Linked DNA regions of Homo sapiens: region 1 is linked to region 2. Evidence: promoter capture Hi-C in 16 types of primary human blood cells and fetal thymus (Javierre and others, 2016). All regions are on one chromosome and are shown on one strand. The core of a region is centred on a gene start or on the middle of the fragment in contact, and the rest is flanking DNA. Distances in the headings are between cores, read along the strand shown. Region 1 holds the start of LINC00574 (long intergenic non-protein coding RNA 574). Region 2 holds the start of PSMB1 (proteasome 20S subunit beta 1).

Region 1 (6,874 bases), core at 548-3,047, 760 kb after region 2:
TCTCATCCACCTGCTGTCTGCTTCTGTCCTGTCTTAGCCCAGCAGAGCTGTTTTAACACAGACATTTGCAGCCTGCCCAGTACTCTCCTGGAACCAATAAGTCGCCAGTTAGGAAAAAGATCAGCACTGACCAAACACAGAGATGTTGGAAACCTGCATTAATCCCCAGTAGAGGCAGAGGCTCTGAATGCTGAAGCCACAGCTACGACTTGGCCACACTCTGCACATGGCCCCAGACATTCAGATTTCTGCACCCTCAGGGTGGCTTGCAGGCTCCAGAGCCGGGGTTCGGGCCCTGCTGACCACAGCCAGCTGTCCCCTGCAGCCTCAGACCAGGGCCAAATTCCTGGTGTGCTTCCCTCCTGCACCCACTCAACAGCTCTGTGGCCTTTGCAAGCACCTGCCTGACAGGGCTATGGCAATGTGTGGAGTCAGACAATGGTGCCAAGTCGGGAGCGGACTTACGGTGAGACAGTGTAGATAAAGCCTGGGGCCCAGCTCCCCAGCAGCACCTGCTCCTGCACTGTGGCCACCGTGGCAACGTAGCTGCTTCTATTTCCTTGAGCTCCATTGCCATCTTTTCCCAGGCGGGGCCCCTTCACCCCCTGCACCTGCCACCATCCGCCCTTGCCCCTTACTCCTGAGCCTCCTTTCAGTCCTGCTCTTGGAAGGGAAAGAACCCCTGGCTTGGGGAGCCTGCCTGGTCCTGGGGTGGCCGCCTGCCAAGGCCCTGGCATCTCCCATCCTGAGGCTCCTGCCCTGCCTCTGAGCTCTCCCTCTCACTCCCGTCCCCTTGGCCTCTCCCGGCTGGGGCCTTGCTGTCTGTCACCCCTGAACGGAGCTGATGCTGACACCCCAGAACAGCAGGGACCTGGAACTGTTCCAGTCACCTGCTTCAAGCAGCACCTTGAGGACAGACCTTCACCTGCACTTGGAGCATTTAGTTGAACTGCAGTTTTGATAATAATGTAACTGTGTGCAAACACTAGAGCAAGTGACTGTGGTGTGGAAGGGCGAATACTCGGGAAGTGTGGGATTTTTGTCTGAGAAGTTTATTCAGCAAGCAGCTAATTCATGGTAACATAAAGAAAGTTGATATGAAAACTGCCCTTCCCCTATATCCCTAAGGAGACCACCAAGAAGACCAGGACATGCTATTACGTATGTTCTAGAAATGATGAAGGGGAGCACTGGGGAGCTAAGATACATGGGTTTAATCTCAGATTCACTTCCGATGAACCGCCCTCCTTCGTGCATCCACTCTGAAAGGCGTGGCCTCAGTACGAATTTGGGAAGCTTTTGCAGTGGCAGAAGTCATGAAATTAGGGGGCAGCACCTTAGGGCCATCAAAAGGGAGGGTTGTCTTGGGAATGAAGGTTTGGCGTTAACAGATCTGGCTTGTTGGGTCTAAAGAACAACAAAGTATTCCTCCCTGGCTCTCGGAACTCAAGGTCCTGAGCTCTTCAATACTGGGCAAGTTCACGTTTGCACATTTCGCACAAGCAGGAGGCAGGGTGAGTTGTTGGGATTCATGCCAGGCAGAGCCGAGCACATCAGGGGCCCTGGGTAAAAGGGGGTGGGGACAGCGCAGGCACCAAAGGTCTTGGCATGGGGTTGCCAGCCACCAGCAGACACCAGATGGGAAGGGAAACCGCAGGCCCACCGTTTGCCTCTGCCTGCGGGGTGCTGCCCCCACAGTGCCTCTCAGGTGTCTGTAGTCTCACACTTGTTTCTCACCCTCAATGTGGATCACAGCTGCCGCATGTCTCTGTAAGCACCACAAGGCCGGTGGCATCCCCTTGGGCTCACAGGATGCCTGAACCACCAGCCTCATCCTGAACTCCCCTCCATGTACGTGAGCCCCATTAGCTTTTCTCCCATTTGTAGGCAATGGAAGGCCAAACTCTCTTAGAGAAAGAACAAGAAACTAGGGTGAGCTGCCTCACATGTTGAGATGTGGAAAACTGAGATTTATTTGCAGAGAAAAGAACTGGGCTCCACTGTCCTGAGGGTGCCTCTGGTCTCTCGCAGTTGGATCCCCTCACATTTCCCAAGCCCAGGTCCAGATCTCCTCCTCCCCACCCTATCTCTTCACTTCTCATAAACCAGCTCCCCTAGCTTTGCCCAGATCACCCAGCAACACCATGGCAGGTAAATCCTTCCTCTTTACAGTAGACTCTGAAATTCGCCCTATGTTTCCCACTCCCCTCTTCGTCGATGAAAAGGAACAGCTTGGGGTTTCCAGCACCTGGTGCCTCCTGTCTGCGGCCCCTCCAGGACATTGGCTGTAAAGCTTTCTCCTCCTCCAGACGCCTTCGTGCACCCACCTGCACCGACCGTCCCGACCTCAGCCCACCTTTTCTCCATCCTGAGCCACAGTACATGTCCCCCAGGAATCTGTGGCTCTGACCACCTCTGACAATTCACTCCCCGTCAGCCCCTTGGGAACCCCAAGAGAGTTCAGCCTGAGCCCCCGGCCTTCCGGGCCTCCCCAGCTGTGTTTCCGGTCATTCCTTTCCTCGAGTCCCTCCACCCTGGATGCCCAGGGTGCCACCCTAGCCTCCCCTACACGCTGGCTTGGTTCTTCTCAACCATCGCCATTGGCTTGGTTTCTGTTGTGTTTGGTTTTTAGGGGTCAGGCTGCCGAGTGCTGTTCTTCTCCTGGGCTCTGTCCTCCTCTCTCTCCTTGGGTTGCAGCATCCAGGTCTGATCCAATAACTCCACAGCACACAATGCGGCCCAGGCCATGCACGGAGGAAGACAGCAGAGCGGCCATGAGGCTCCCAAAGGGAGCCAGGGCCCAGGCCCAGCACACCCTGCCCACAATCCCCTGCATCCACTGCCTCTCCTGCACCCGGCACTGGGCAGCGTGGGCTGTGTCAGCGGTGTCCCTCCTCCCTTCTCAATCTGTTGTGAGCTCCATTAGGCCAGGGACCGGTCCTTAGAAGCTGTGGGACCCTTCAGCCTCCCTAGCAGAATGTCTTGCACACAGTGGTGGCTCCATAAAATATTTATTTTCTATTTTGTCCATTTATTTTATAAATCTCATGCAGGCCAGATAGATTGGAATTATCAATTACTCTAGAAAATAAAAGGATAAAAGCAAGATCTGGAAATACAGACCGAGCAGCACTGGAATGCACCAACTAAGGCAGAGAGGCCCCCTGAGGCTCCGCGACTGCTGGACCATTTAAGGCAACATCATATCTCAAGTGGGGAGGGAGAGAATCCGCCGGTCTCAGCGGGGGTGGGTTTTTTAAAGTGGATTTAGTCATGGTCTGGACTTGCCCAATTTTCTGTGCTATGCTGTGGGAAGGGACAAGGTCCTAAACTACCCTCACAGGACTTAAATAAAACAAAGAACACATACAGGTGGGTGGGAAGGCAGTCAGATGACTCAATTCTGTGCCCACCACCCATGGCCCCTGATGGGTCATGCCTTCTGCTTAGACAACAGCCTCCTAGACCCCACAGATGGGGGCAATGGCATAAACTCAGACCTGCAGCCGAGGCCTGACTCACCACAATGGCCCTGCCCTGCACTGCCAGTGACAGACCTGTCACTTTCTCACTGATCCTTCATTTTCCTATGAAATGGGGCTAATATTGCCTCTTTCTAAGGTTGCTATTAGGATTAATTTTTGAGATAATAGACACTGAGATAACAAACCTGCCAAGTGTTACATCGATGTGATTATCCTGAGATTGAGAGGAAATGTCAGTGAGGCACTAGGTGGTGGCATGGCCGTGAGTGGGAGAAAGAGGGTGGATGTTCCAGATGTCCCTGGATCTCTACCAAAGAGAAGATGCAGCGAAAGGACAGCCGTGTTCCTGGTGTCTCCTTTTCCCCTCAGGACAATGAATTACGGGTTTTCTGTGCCTTAGTTTTCTTCCTTTCAAATGCAGTTAATAATACTGTCTCTCAGGGGGTATTCACAGACGTGAACAATTAATGATCGCAAAGTGCTTTGAAAATAAATGAGCTTACTCATAATGGTGGTGTTTGATATTTATAATAATAAGCCTGTGCTGCTGGCTTCGCGAACTATATTCATTGGTACAGAGCTTAGTTTTATGACTGGCTTTTTCAATATTTTAACATAAAATCCTCTTATTTTAAAGTAATCAAATGACCTTCCTGCATTCCTCCAGAGTCTTATTCGGAAAAACTTAAGATTTGATCATAGATCTATTTTAAGAAGTGCCAAGTTAACTGACATCGATGCCATCGTATCTGGAGTCCCTAGGAAATCCAGGGGGGGACAATGAACCGTAGGAAGACTCGGACTCGGGTCTGCCTGTAGCACTCGGAGCCTGCAAGGCAACACAGTTATTGAGTTCTATTAAAATTACTTGGTGTGGCTATAAACCAAACCACACCCCTGTAGCCAATGCGAAGAGCTTCCCGTAAAAGCCGTGCGGTGGGAAGGCCTCTCGCTGTCTCCTCTGCGCGGCAGGCAGACATGGACGACACCGAGGCGTGAATTCAGCCTGCACCTCCTAAAGATGAGCTGTTGAGGGCGATGGCCACAGCAAGTCCGCACCAAGTGCTCTTTAAACATGAGTGTTTCTTTAAACAAAGAACCTTCCCGGCATTGAGGTCTGATTAATGATGCCCCGGCACCTCCTCCCTCACTCAGGGATCACTTCCCTGCGGCGCGTTCCCAGACGCAGGCTTCCCTCACGGAGGCGGGAAGATTTCAGGCGCTGTCTGTTCTTGTCTTTTGTCAGCACGGACAAGGATGGAGACCCCACTGGTCAGGCGAGCCCCGCGGTCCCTGTTCCTCACTTCACCACCTGGGGAAGCCTGATCCCCATCGATTCGCAAAGGAACAAGGAAAGAACACGTTTTACCTGGATGGATGGTCCCCCTCACGGTGGCCTTGGAACCCGCTTCAGCGGGAGAGGCAGCGCCTCACTCACGGCTCCCCCTGGCCGCTGCTTTACCAGGGAGCGCCACCCCGTGCCCCGCCAGAGGAAGTGCAGGCGCCAGCACAGCACGGGCCGAAAGCCACACTGTGGGACCCGCAGCGCAGCTCCAAGAAATCCAAAGTCCATTCACAAGAGGAGCTTCTCCGCCAAATCGTTGAAAAATAAAACGAGAAATGAGTCGCCACCGGTATCCGCTTTAGTCAGCCGTACGAAAACGCAACCCGGTCAGCTGCACTTCTGCTGCCAGCCCTCCTCCAGTCAAGCACCGGCCTCGAGAAGGGCAAAGGGCAGGTAGGAGTTCCGACGCATGCGGCCACGGGGCGGAGTCACAGTTCAGAGGCCTCAGCTGAACCTGAAGTTATCCTAAGCTCGAGCCCCAGAGTGAGGACTCGGGGTCAGGCATCCGATTCCCCATCAGCTCCTTTACTAAAGCTGTGCAGAGAATCCGAGGCTATGAGTGGGGGTGGGGGAAAGATGTACAGGATGCTTTGGTTTCACTCCTGAGATACGAGAACGTCCTCTGAACACACATGCAGATAGCTGGACTTCTAGACAGAGGAAATCCAAATCGTTTCTTTCCTCCCAGCATAAGGGAACGGTCCGGTAAGAGCTGGTGTTTATCGATGCTACGTGCCAGAATGGGGCTGAGCACGGCGCCTCACTGTATCCTAACGTCTAATGAGGCAGGGAATGTCACTGTCACACTCTGCAGACGAGGAAGCCATGCTGTCAGCAGGTACACATCTTGCCACAAAACCAGTAACCTGTGGCACTGAGATCGCACACCGGTCGTCCACTGCCAAGTCCGTGGCCTCCTTCTCTGGGGTTTGCCTGCCTCTTGATGGCGGCCATGCCTCTGTCCTCTCGCAGGGGCTGGCTCTTCCAGTGGTCACTACTTTTTGGTTGCAAGCAGCAGAGATTCCCTGGAGGGCTTGTTGAAAGCACTCACATCAACGGAGCCTCAGAAAGGGAGCTGAGGCCATGCACGGCCCTGCAGTTTCTCCTCAGGCTTTGGTTTGCATCCCTGGCCTGACTTTCCCTCAACAAGTCCTGCTATCTCCACAAGGCGGCCAGCCCAGCCCTGTCCTCACCTTCCAGCCCCAGCTGAGCAGCCCCTCCCCACATCATCTTCAGCTGCTGCCCAGGCTCCGCAGAGCAGGTGTCCACCGCCCATCCAGCCATTGTGTTTAGAGGGCAGAGCGACCTGCCGGGACCTTGACAACACCTGGCCCCACCCACACGTCCTGCAATATTCACTGAGGAATGCACAGCAGCACATATGTGCCTCATGTGTCCTGCTGTGATGCAGCGAGTGGCACACAGCATTATTGTGTCAATCATGTGTCTTGATGTGATGCACTGGTTCAGACAGTATCATGGATGCAGTGTTTCTTTAAAACTGTCAAATTTGAGGAAACAATCTAACAAAAGCCAATTGATGAACATTCTGTAAAGGTGACATAAATACTTCAAAAATGTCTCTGACACAGAAAGAAAAAAAACAAAAAGGGAGCTATTCCAGATTTTAAAAATAAAAGATATAGTAACTAAAAGCAGTTGTGGTGCTTGGATAAAAACAAACAACAGGTATAAATGAAGGTATAAACGATATTATTATACACACTGGGAAAAATTTTATATGGACCATGTATTAGATAATGGTGCTGTGTTATTGTTAAATTTCCTCCATTTGATAACTGAAGGGGAATGATTTTGTTCTCAATAGATGAATGCTCAAGTATTTGGGGGCAAAACATCACATCACAATGACTAACTTTCAAAATGGTTCAGTCAAAAGAATGATATATGTGTACTTAAAAGGGGAAAATAAGTGTGGCAAAATGCCAACGATAGTTGAACTGTCATGTGGGAATCCATTGGACTATTCTAGAAACATTTCTGTAGCTTTAAAATTATTTAAAACAAATGTTGTGGGGAAAAG
Region 2 (6,562 bases), core at 2,842-5,341:
AATAAAACTAGAAAATAATTTGGTGAGGGTGATTTTCAAAATCAAAGACCCTATATAGTCATTTGGAACATTCTCATAAGTGTTTATCAAAAGATTAGGTGTTTCATAAATATATAACTTAGCTTCCAGACTTCCCAAATAAACACCATTGTGCCTATTCAAAGCCTAATAGAACTTCTCAACAAAATAAGGCTTAAAAAACATATTAAACCATTTTCAAAAACAGATCATTAAATGCCCTTCCTTGCCTTTTGATACCATCTCTTGCAGTTCAGATTTCCGCCCTCCCTATTCTCTCCCTCCTGCTATATTACCTGAGGGGAGGCCAAGCCCTGAGCGTAAGGTGGCAGGCTGTTGTTCTGATCCATGATGTTCACTTTCTTCTTGGCAAACCAGAAACCCTTGCGCTGGAACTCGTCTCACTATTCAATTTTTTCCTAGAGCATCTCCAGCACACTCTTCTCAGCAACTTCCTCAATTCCTTGGGTTATCTTCACACGCCAAGAAACAGTGATGCTGCTTTGGAAAAAAGTCTAAAGTTTAATTTAAGGATCCAGGTAACCTGTACAGTCCTATAAGCCAGTTCTATGGCTATACAAAACACAAACATGAAAACCAATGAAGCTATTTTGGAATACATTTGTTTTTACCTTATAATCCTAAAGTTTTATTCCTTCCATGTTTCCGGCGATTGCATGTAAAATCGCCAACAAAACAAAAATCATTTTGTTACATGTTTAAATAATCGGAAAATGCTCAAAATCGAGCTGTCATAACCAGCATTAAAAACTTTTGAGGAAAAACACCTAGAGAAAAATAATTCCTAAGCAAAATGTAATATCAGAGCAGAATATTCACTAAGCACTGTATACACAGCACTGTTAGGCAAAGTTTAGATCTTTAAATATTCCAATTTTACATCCTCTACAATGTCTTGGGCAAAAAATTAAGTAAATATCAAATTCAATCCAATATACTTCAGAGTGATCATTTATCAAGCTCCTACTGTAATGAAACTGTTAAAAAAAAAAAAGCCGCACAAAGATAAAGCCCTGAATTTTTATAAATGTAATAACCTTACCTCTTTAGAACACATTAATGCAAACTGTGCCTGTTATCTGACTTTTCTTAAATCATCATCGCTTTACTCACTACACATCTGAAATGAGTTTATAACAACATATTCTCACATAGAACTTAGAGGTCTCAAAGTTACAAATTATATGTCCAAAGATCCTTCAGGCATATGCACTTCAAGCATGTGCTGGTACAGAACAGACACTCAGATATTTGCTGAATGTATGAAAGACTCTGACGATCACTTTGAAAGGGCAAAGGCCCCCAAAGACTATCTATCCTACATACTCATCACTGAAAAACAGACCAAAAAAGAAAGCAAGCTCTGCTTCTGGAAATAAATATATCAGAGATATTTTTTAAAATATACTTTTTTTTTGACAGTTATCCTATAATAACAATAACAGAAGTCCTGCAGATGAGGATATAAAGATAGGAGGATATAGTCCTTGGCATCAAAGTGTTCAATATGAAGGGTATGCAAATAACTACTGTAAAACATAGTATTATAACAGCAGGTATGGTCTAAGCTAAGTTCCTTGAATGCAGAAACCAGCCTACATGTCTTTGTGATCTCTGCATCTAGCACTATGCCTGGAATACAGTATGTGATCATGAATGAGCCCATATACACCCCTGGAAGAGAAGACAATATAGACTAACAGCCAATCACTGTGAAGAGAGCGCAGTGTTTTCACAAAGCAGGGACCATCTAACTTGGGTCTCACAAGGTGAGTAGGAATTTACACATCAGGGCTTCAGACAAAAGAGAAATCAAGCAGAAAGAGACAGATTGAAAAAGCATGCAGTATGCAGGCAACAAGCTTAGTATGACTGTATAGAAGGTCACTGCAGCAGATGAGACAGCACATATTGGTGGGCTCATACTATCAGGAGTTTTCAATGTTATTGCATAGGCAATAATAACAGTTATGGAATTTCGGAAGTGCAGTATGAACAGATCTAATTTGGCAAGACTAGATGAATTTGAGAGGAGTAAAACTGGAGGACGGAAGTTTCGTTTCAGGAATCTAAGGTTGAGGCAAGAGATAATGACGGCAGGATTTAAAGCCATTATAAGTATGATTAGAGATTTATCCAGGACCTTCGGTGGCTTCAGGCCACTTTTTGCAAGTAAGTCTACAGAAGAAACCGCACAGTGATTACTGCACTAATTTATCCTCAGAAAAGAGTTGTTTGCTGGGTATCTTCATCTCCTGGAAATTGAAACATCAAATCCGATATTTTTTGGAGGCAATCAAATTAATTCTGCATAGCCTTCTAGTGTCTGTATAACTAAATGAAGCACAGTCTTTTCACAGAAAAGTCTACCTAGAGATTTGGAAAACCATGATGGCCTGAACCGAGAGACGGGAGACCCTGCAAATAAAGTGGTGTGTATTATATCTTAAGCGCTACCGTGCCCGCTGTCTCAGGCTTCTGACAAAATATTTAAGTCTCAATGTTGGCAGCAAAACAGGCGGGCACAGATCTGGGTGAATCTGCTTCTAACATGGAGAAGAAGCGGATGGCAGGACAGGGCAGGGTAAACTTAGGGTCTTCGATGCAAGGGACTGTCCTGTCCCGCCTGCCGCCGCCCAGCCAGCCAGTAGTACCCTGAGCCCCACAATCGTACGATGGGAAGCTGCCTGCGAAACACAGCAGAGTAGGGCACCAGGCGGGAGTGGCGGCCGAGTGGCCGTTACAGGCCGGAACGGCGGCAGCACGAAAGGGAGGAACGTCCCCCGAGGGGCCTGCACGCGCGCCAATTCCTAGTCTCTTCCCCACCATTGCCCCCAGGCCTCAGTGCAGTGGTGGCCTTCGCCCGAACCGTCAGAAAAGAGTACAATCTGTTACCTGGGTCACTGCAAAGATCACTATGGGCCAGCGGAAGCGAAGTTAAACAGCCGGCGGCCCAGGCGCCCGCCACAGCGAACCTGCCCGACCTCACTGAACCCCTGGCGCGCGTTGATAATGTCACTTCCGCCAGTTCTGCCCTCGGCTTCAGCGAGTTGCTCCCACTAGGGCCGAGGCCATGAGAAGTGTGAGCATAGGTCACTTCCTGTGTTTCCATAGGTAAGGAGGGGCGAAGCTCTTGAGGAGTTCCGGGGCGGGGCCGCCGTGCCACAGCCATCTCTAATTGGCCCTTGCTGGACGTAGGAAAGATCGATTTTTAAATGGCGTGTGTGTGTATATGTGTGAGTGTGTTTTGTTGTTGTTGTTGTTGTTGTTTAAAGCAACTAGCGGCGTTACCTTCGACAAGTTACCTGACCTCTCCCCCGCATTTTTTTTCTGTAAAATTGAATAATGATAACAGTGCTTACCCTTGGGCTGTCGGGAGATTGACAGAGATTGACAGAATCAGTGCCTGAGCAGTGCTTGGCACTCAGTAAGCGCGTCCTCCTTACCTGTCAGCAAGAACGCTAGCTGATCTTCAAGCGTGTAGAATGACAAGGAACACTAAGCAAAACAAACAGCTTGTGTTTACACATGCATTTATATTCAGTTCTGCCACTCCCAGTTCATGCACTGTTGTCACATGGCTCTTTCCGCAGTTGTTTCTTAGTGGGACTTCAGCACGCCTTGATTTTCCCTTCTGTAGTTCATTGTGGCGTAATCATATGTTATACTGCTTGTTTTCTTTGTACTTTTTATTATCAGTGAGGTTGTGAGCTCTTTAAGGATAGGAAATGTTATATACATTTTTTATTAGCCAGGACAATTAACGTTCCCACCGTTATTCGAGTTGCCGTTGCGCCATAGTTCTGACAATTTTTTTGTATGGTCAGACTTAAATTTTTGTCCATTGGGGTGAATTCCAATGTTTTCTTCGAGGGGGAAAAAAACAAAAAACAAACAAAAAAAACCCTTTACATCCCTGTCAGCGCTTTTTGGAATGGGCGGGATTCAACTACCAAAGGGACAAGCCGCCGTGCAGCCCTCCAGGAGCAACGACTAGCGTGAGATAGAGAGGCCGGGAGCGAACTTCAGGAGAAGCCGGAAGTGGCGTAACGTCCGGTCAAGGCAGCCATCTCGCCGTGAGACAGCAAGTGTCGGATCCGCAGGCGCAGCCGTGCGATGTTGTCCTCTACAGCCATGTATTCGGCTCCTGGCAGAGACTTGGGGATGGAACCGCACAGAGCCGCGGGCCCTTTGCAGCTGCGATTTTCGCCCTACGTTTTCAACGGAGGGTAAAAACCCCAGAGAGCTGCGGCTTTCACTTTCGCCCTTCCCCCATCTGCTGAAGCCTATTTAGGAGTCACCGCCGTGATGGCGCTGCCCCGGGCTCCTGCAGGCCTCAGAACCCTGAGCTGAGGGGGTCCGCACAAGGCCGGTCTCCCTGCCGTCCTCTCATGCCCTGTGTTTCCCTCTTCAGGCTCGCTTTGCTCAAGTTTACTTGGTGATTGCGATACAGCCTTGGTTTTTAGGGTTTCCCATTACAGTCATGTCATTTGAGTTTTTATGTGGACCGCCACTCCGTGCTCCTTGCTGCTGTAAGACAGTAAAGTAGAAATTGAAACATAGCCTCTGCTCTGTGGAAGACCATTAAAACTGGACCTCATGTACACGTTTCTTATGCCAGCCGGCGAGGGTAGAGGGTTAGCGTCTGAAACTTAAAAGTTAGGGTTGTTTGGTCTGTGTTGTTAGATGCATAGCTGGGTTGGTAGCCGAGATGTCTAATTGTAGCCGCCTGATTTCTGTTATTTCTAATTGTAGCAGTTTAATCATTTTGTTTTATTTCAAATAGAAGGTGGGATTGGCTGAGCAAACTTAGTTTCATAGATAAGTGCTTTTTTTTTTTAACGTTTAGCTTAAGTTCAGGAAAACAAAATACTCAGAAGATGGACCTTTTAGTATGTGTGTTCTTGTATGTTATGTTCAAGTTTTGGTTTTTATTTTAATTACCAGCTTTATCTTGAGTAGTATAATTTTCCGTGGTGGCACGCCAGAGATTTAGGGTTATAGAAAGATGCTCTGTTTAAGACTCTTGACAGGGAAGAGCTGTAAATTGAAACAGTGGTTATAGTTACCAATCAAGCCTTGTACATTAAAATATACACACGCAATTTGAACGAACCGATGGTTCTTAAAACAGAAAATATTGGCTGGGCAGTGTGGCTCGCACCTGTAATCCCAGGACTTTGGGAAGCCAAGGCAGGAGGATCATCGCTTGAGGCCAGGAGTTGAAGACCAGCCTGCGCAGCATAGCAAGACCCCATCTCTACAAAAATAAATTTTAAAAACAAAGCAAAAATGTTAATTGGTTCCTCATAAATTTGAAATATAAATGCACATTTTGGGAGTGTGTTAGAAAGATAACGAAAGTCTGATTTTAGCCTTGGTTCTGCCACTAAAGGACACTTTGGGTACTTCTGAACTTCTTGAACCTAAATTTCCTTATCTTCCTTAGTAGCTTCATAGTTTTTGGTGAGAATCAAGAGAGATGCATTTTGTAAATTGCAAGCTGTCATCTTATTTAATCCTCATGAAAAGTGAATGTTAGATGATATTAGCATCCTAGGGTTATATTAGACGTTAAACTGTCAGGGTCAGAGAGCTGGTGTGAAGTTGAGCCAGGACTTAATTCATAGCTATTTCACCACTGAGTTTATGGATGCTTTTCCATTATACACCTTAACACTTCCTGTGATGACTAATTAAGTTGTATATTGTAGGGAGGGTTATTGGACCCGTTTCGTAAGGCTATTCTCTATAAATAAGAATTTTCAGTGTTCAGTATGCCCTACTCGTTACTCACTTTTTAATCCCTTGTAATCCAGTTTAAGCCATTACTGCCCTAAAAATTACTTAGATCTTTCTGATTACTTTTTCTCAGTCATTGTTCTTTTTCTTTAGTGTTTACTGCAGCTGGCTCTCAGGCAGCCTTCGCTTCCGCAAAATGAGGCCTCATTCTCTTTTCCTACTCTGTCTTTAAATGTAGTTAAGTCATTAGCCGCCTTGTTTATCGCTCAGCACTCTTTCATGTCTCATTGCTGGGAGGATTACTCCCAAATCTGGTTTTCCAGTTCTGCCTCTCATGAGTCCCTCGATTCGGCTTCTTCAGTAAAACATTTTTAACTGGTTTTTCTGCTCTCAGGGCAACTCAAGACAGCTAGCAAAACAAAAAGCAAGCTAATTATTCCCCTTCATCTCCTCTTCTCCTTTCTTCTTATTTTTTGAGACAGAGTCTCACTCTGTCACCCAGGCCGGAGTGCAGCGGTGCGATCTCAGCTCACTGCAACCTCCAACTCCTGGGTTCACGCATTTCTGCCTCAGCCTCCCGAGTAGCTGGGATTACAGGTGCCTGCCACCACGCCTGGCTAATTTTTGTATTTTTAGTAGAGATGGGTTTCACCATGTTGGCCAGGCTGGTCTCGAACTCCTGATCTCAGGCAATTGACCCCCCCCCCCCCCCTCAGCCTCCCAAAGTGTTGGGATTACAGGTGTGAGCCACCGTGCCCGGCCTCCTCTCCTTTAAAATACT

Evidence for each region. Contacts are between HindIII fragments. The CHiCAGO score rates a contact against its expected background, and 5 or more counts as called.
Region 1: a contact is called between a fragment that was not itself captured here and the fragment with the promoter of PSMB1 in region 2, in 11 of 17 cell types (activated CD4 T cells, naive CD8 T cells, total CD4 T cells and 8 more). The highest score is 9.2, in activated CD4 T cells.

The regions. Positions count from the first base shown.
Region 1 is chr6:169,788,397-169,795,270 of GRCh38, reverse strand. LINC00242 (long intergenic non-protein coding RNA 242) reads left to right here. Exons shown (of 2, transcript NR_026781.1): 2 at 4,153-6,481. LINC00574 (long intergenic non-protein coding RNA 574) reads right to left here and starts at 5,198. Exons shown (of 3, transcript NR_026780.1): 1 at 4,855-5,198; 2 at 1-87. The HindIII fragment of the contact is 997 bases long and covers 1,299-2,295 here.
Region 2 is chr6:170,550,836-170,557,397 of GRCh38, reverse strand. PSMB1 (proteasome 20S subunit beta 1) reads left to right here and starts at 4,091. Exons shown (of 6, transcript NM_002793.4): 1 at 4,091-4,268. The coding sequence starts at 4,156. It overlaps TBP (TATA-box binding protein), which reads right to left and starts at 3,029. Exons shown (of 8, transcript NM_003194.5): 1 at 2,935-3,029; 2 at 315-516. The coding sequence starts at 368. RefSeq lists enhancers at 2,759-3,148, 3,959-4,338. The HindIII fragment of the contact is 7,721 bases long and covers 1,904-6,562 here.